Linked DNA regions of Homo sapiens: region 1 is linked to region 2. Evidence: promoter capture Hi-C in human tissues and cell types (Jung and others, 2019). All regions are on one chromosome and are shown on one strand. The core of a region is centred on a gene start or on the middle of the fragment in contact, and the rest is flanking DNA. Distances in the headings are between cores, read along the strand shown. Region 1 overlaps STAT5B (signal transducer and activator of transcription 5B). Region 2 holds the start of KAT2A (lysine acetyltransferase 2A).

Region 1 (2,700 bases), core at 201-2,700, 91 kb after region 2:
TGGGAGGCCGAGGCGGGCAGATCACCTGAGGTCGGGAGTTCGAGACCAGCCTGACCAACATGGAGAAACCCCGTCTCCACTAAAAATACAAAATTGCGGGGCGTGGTGCCGCATGCCTGTAATCCCAGCTACTCGGGAGGCTGAGGCAGGAGAATCGCTTGAAACCAGGAGGCGGCGGTTGCGGTGAGCCAAGATCGTGCCATTGCAGTCCAGCCTGGGCAACAAGAGCGAAACTCTGTCTCAAAAAAAAAAAATGAATAAAAATAAAATCAAAGTGACGTCTGAATTAGCAGATGCTAGAGGAGGAGTTTCTTTCATCAGCATCCCTCTTTGTGGGTTGAGGGTCCCATAGGAGCCTGATCTGGCATTACACATGGGGAACATAAGAGAGTAAAGGGGAGAGAGGCCCAGAGTTCGCATCCCCTCAAAAGCTTTGCTTCTCATGAGCTATGTTAACATCTGCTTTGCTCTATTTCCTTTACAAAGGAAGAAAATGCATTAACTGTAGACAAAGGTCAACTTATTTAAAATATGCAAAGATGTAATTTTCTACACGTGACCTGGGTAACTCTCAAGTTGTCCATCTAGTCAGAAGCTTCTATTACTTTCGGTACATTTTATTAGAGACATGAAGAATAAGGGCCCAGGGCAGGGAGACTCCTGAGAGCATCTGGTTGGGAAGGACTGATCTAACAGCGGCTGGCAGCTGGGCTCCTCACCCTGTTGAACTGGGACCAGGACACAGACAGGCCACTGTAGTCCTCCAGGTGGCTGCTGCTGTTGTTGAACAGTTTCTGCGCCAGGAACACGAGGTTCTCCTTGGTCAGGCCCCGGTTGCTCTGCACTTCGGCCTTGAATTTCATGTTGAGCGCCTCACACAGCTGTGGCCACAGCACTTTGTCAGGCACGGCAAATGGCACCCTGCCCTGAGAGGGAGAGAGGCCAGAATCTGATGAGAAAACAGTTGCATGATTTATTCCCTCAAGCCACAAAAGAAAAACGCTGATGGCTGGGAGTGGTTACACACATTTGTCTTGCAGGGCCTGAGGATAAATTCAGACTCTGCTGGGGTACACGGTTCTGTGAAATTCAGAAGGTTCCGTTTCACCTTCTTTACACACAACTAGAAGGTAACCCATGCTATCCATGCTGTTTTGTAAATGAGCTGCTGAACTAACAGTCAAATCCTATGTTCTAACGGCCACAAACCAAAACATAACCAAGGTCTGGCTCTTAGATTGTAAACACCTTGGGAATTTAGAAATCTGAAAGACTGGTCCTCTAGGTACAAACAGAGAGAGTGTGCGTATGTGTGCACACGTGTCGGCATGTGTGTACACACGTGGAATCATTGCCCTCGACTCCTTCTGCCAAGAATTCTAGCTCAAAGTAAAACAACTTGGTATGGAAGAGTGGAAATTTTGAGTTGGATGGCTTTATTGAGAAATAGGTTAGAAGATTAACTTTTAATAAACTGCTTTTCAACCCGTTCAGCCATAGTACTCCATTTTATTTTGTTACAAACACTTTTTTCAATAGGTGATTTTCACATGATTTAAAATTCAAAAAGCACAGACGGCTACACAGTGAAGTCACTCCCTATCCCTGTCTCCCAGCAACCCAGTTCTTTTCTTTAAAGGCACCTAACACAGTTTCTTGTGTATCCCACCAAAGATATTCTATGCATGCCAGCAATGACATATACCTTTTCCTTTTCTTCACAAATGACAGCACAAAATCCACATGTTCTGCATCTTCCTCTTTTCACTTAATCCTCTATCTGGGAGACCTCCCATCAGCACATAAAGAAATTTCACCAGACCCCCATAGATGGGCATCAGTGTTACAGCCTCATCTTTAGCTATTACTAACAATGCTGCAATGTTCTTATGTTATTTGACCCACAGGACACATAGGCAAATATATATGGAGAATAAATTTCCACAATTATTTTTTTTTTTAGGTAAGGTCTCGCTCTGTCATCCAGGCTGGAGTACAGTGGCCCAATCTTGGCTCATTGCAACTTCTGCCTCCTTAGCTCAAGTAATTATCCTACCTCAGCCTCCCAAACAGCTGGGACTACAGGCGTGCACCACCATGCCTGGCTAATTTGTGTGTTTTTTGTAGAGACAGGGTTTTGCTATGTTGACAAGGCTGGCCTCAAATTCCTGGGCTCAAGAGATCCGCTTGCCTTGGCCTCCCAAAGTGCTGGGATTGCAGGCATAAACCACTGTGCCTGGCCACAAGTCTTTATTATTTATTTTTTATTTTTTATTTTTTTGAGACAGAGTCTCACTGTGTTGCCCAGGCTGGAGTGCAGTGGCACCATCTCAGGTCACTACAACCTCTGCCTCCCAGGTTCAAGCAATTCTCCTGCCTCAGCCTCCCGAGTAGCTGGGATCATAGGCACGCACCACCACGCCCAGCTAATTTTTGTATTTTTAGTAGAGATGAGAGTCTCACCATGTTGGCCAAGCTGGTCTCGAATTCCTGACCTCAAATGATCCACCCACCTCGGCCTCCCAAAGTGCTGGGATTACAGGTGTGAGCCACCGTGCCCAGCTGAAAGTCTTTTTTTTAACATAGCATAAGGTCGGCTGGGTGCAGTGGCTCATGCCTATAATCCCAGCACTTTGGGAGGCCGAGGTGGGTGGATCACTTGAGGTCAAGAATTCGAGACCAGCCTGGCCAACATGGTGA
Region 2 (2,700 bases), core at 1-2,500:
TAGCTAGAGAGAAGAGGAAGGGGGCATAGAGGGGAGGGGGGCAGAGCTGCAGACAACCCCTCAAGGCCCCACCTCCTTCACTCACACCCTCCTTTAGTGGAAGCTCACCTTGAAGAGGTAGAAATAGACCTGCTTGGTGTCTGTGTCCTCTTCCTTGTGAACAGACATGAAGAGATTCTCCACATCCACCACCATCCCCAGCAGTCGGTTTATCTCATCCTCTGACACATTCTCCAAGTGGGATACGTGGTCAGCTGCAAGACAGATGGCAGAGTTAGGAAAAATTGATAGAAGAAATCAACAAGGCTTCTTGACCCTCTTCACAGCCAAGCAAGATACACACTCTGTTCCTCCAACCAGTGTGACCAACAGTGAGACTGACTGCTCCGATATCAACCGTTGGGTTGCCTGGGCCTGTTCTGGGCTGAGAGATTTCCTTTCTCCCCCCTTGGTGCACACCCCCCCCCAACCCAATCCCTCCTTCGAGGCATCTTTGATTTTTTCAGAGATGAAGCTTTGTGGCACTTGTCACCCTGTCCAAGCAGGACCCAGCACCTGCCCCCAGCTCCAAGGGCGCTGCCTGCCTTACCCAAGGGGTGCTCACAACTGCGGCACAGCTCACTCAGGTTGGCAGCTGGCTGCTGCAGATCCATGCGGGGTGCAGTGGGGGGCTTGGGGTTTTTCCAGCCATTACACTTACAGGTTTCATTGGCCTGGAGGTGGAAGGATCAGTCAATGACCTATACCTCTGGGGCAAGAGCCGCTCCGCAGCCAGAGCTTTGACCCCATTCCCACCAGAGCCCTGGGATGCCCCAAGCCCCGCCCCTTCACCCCAGGCCCCGCCCCCACCTTGCAAGCCGAGAAGACCCCTAGCTTCTCAAGCTTCTTGGCGCGCGGCAGCCCCCGGACTTGCGCCTTCCTCTGACTGGCGCGCTGCTGCTGGCTCAGGCCAGGTCGAGCCGGATCCCCCCCGCTCCCGGCCCCCCCACTTCCTACCCCGGGCCCCCCAGTCCCTGTGCTGCCGGCTGGGGCTGCAGCTGGGGCAGGGGCTGGTGCCGGGGTGGGAGTCGGAATCGGGGCTGAAGCCGGGCTGGGTGCAGGAGTCGGAGTTGGGGCAGGGGCTGGGGACTGAAGGGGCCGGGGCTGCGCAGCCGGGGCCGGGGTCGGGGCCTGGGAAGGTTCCGCCATGGCCTCCCCCGCAGCGGAGAGCGGCGCCGCGCTCCCAGCCCTAGGGCCGCATGGGCAACCAGCGCTCAGTGCGCAGGCGTTGCTGCGCGGCGCATGACGGGAGTTGTAGTCTTCCCGCGCCTTCCCCTCACTGCCTCCAGCTTCCAGACTTTTCTGTCCTGTCTCTTGGCCCCTGACAGCCAAGTGAGGCCTGAGTGAAGGCCCCACATTGACCCCTCTTCACTTGTAATCTCTTTTAATGGAGTCCGGGAGAGTCACGATGGCTGTCCTCTTGGGGACAAGGAGTCTTGGGGAGAATCGTGGGGTCTGCCTCTTTCACGCGCCTGTCTCCCACTTAACCCCCTCCCCCAACTCCCGCACAGGCCCTGCCCCACGCGGCTCCGGACACGGAATTGCAGCTGCGGTAGAGATGAGATGTAGCAACAGTTCTGCAGTAGTGTGGTGGTGACTTGGGTGTGTTCTCCTCCTGACATTCACCTGCACCTTTTTCTGCGCTTTTCAGTATGTATGTATTTAATAGTATCACTCAACAAAAAGGAGTTTATCAGGCCGGGTGGCTGGCTCACGCGGGAGGAGAGCTTGAGCCCTGCAGGAGTTCGAGACCAGGCTGGGCAACATTGGGAGACCCCCCCCACCAATCTCTACAAAAAAATAAAAAATAAAGTTTATAGGCTGGGCGAGGTGGCTCACGCCTGTAATCTCAGCACTTTGGGAGGCCGAGATGGGAGGATCGCTTGAGCCCAGGAGTTCGAGATTAACCTGGGCAACATAATGATACCCTGTCTCTTAAAAAAAAAAAATTATCAAATAACAGCACCAGAGGCATAGCTGTGGTTATGATGGTCACCAAGAAGGCTACTGACGTGGAGGGTGAGGCGGAGGAGGGCTAGGTCTTTCTCTGTGCACTGGGAGCCACTCTCCTGAAGCCCCAACTGCGTCTTCATCTTTGTGGCCCCAGAGCCCAGACCACAGCCTGCAGCACAGGACGCCCCGGGAAGAATTAATGCAGCCGGAGAGACCAGTCCACCTCCTCGTGTCGCGTGTCCGCGTGGGGTTGTGGGTGGTCAGGGAGAGGTAGGGTGGATGACCCAGGAAGGCCGCCCTCCCCTGGCTCTGTCTAGGAACAATCCTTGCCCCAGGCCTGGTCCTTAGAAGGCAAGACAGCCCCCTTCCAGCTGGGGGATCAATCTGCTGTTGGCTGCGCCAGGGTGCGGCTCCCTCGGGTCTGGCCTGGTCGTGGATCCAGTTCCTTCACAGCTGCGGCCTCCCCGGGTCCATTAACGAAGGTGGGGAAGGGCGGAGAAAGGGTCGGAGTCTGGGAGGAGAGCAGCTGCGGGCGCGCCAGGGCGCTGACAGTCTGGCTCTTGGAGGTAAGATGGGCGTGGCTGATCCCGAACTCCGCCTGCGTTTGCAGAAGCGAAGGGAACCGAGCGAGCGGAGCTGAGCTCGGGTAGGCCGCGCGAGGTCCCTCCTCTCCGGGCGTCCGTGCGCCTAGCTCTGCGCTGGGAGCCT

The links. The method cuts DNA at HindIII sites, captures the fragments that hold promoters and counts their contacts. A contact is called where the count stands out against the background at its distance.
Region 1: a fragment that was not itself captured here is called in contact with the fragment with the promoter of KAT2A in region 2 in 3 of the 25 tissues and cell types used here (IMR-90 fibroblasts, mesendoderm cells and thymus).

The regions. Positions count from the first base shown.
Region 1 is chr17:42,211,265-42,213,964 of GRCh38, forward strand. STAT5B (signal transducer and activator of transcription 5B) reads right to left here. Exons shown (of 19, transcript NM_012448.4): 13 at 720-926. Among named protein-coding and RNA genes, the nearest start is that of GHDC, 18 kb to the left of the region's middle. The HindIII fragment of the contact is 7,783 bases long and covers 1-2,700 here.
Region 2 is chr17:42,120,117-42,122,816 of GRCh38, forward strand. KAT2A (lysine acetyltransferase 2A) reads right to left here and starts at 1,251. Exons shown (of 18, transcript NM_021078.3): 1 at 850-1,251; 2 at 590-713; 3 at 109-254; 4 at 1-3. The coding sequence starts at 1,188. HSPB9 (heat shock protein family B (small) member 9) reads left to right here and starts at 2,688. Exons shown (of 1, transcript NM_033194.3): 1 at 2,688-2,700. RefSeq lists a silencer at 1,118-1,367. The HindIII fragment of the contact is 6,206 bases long and covers 699-2,700 here.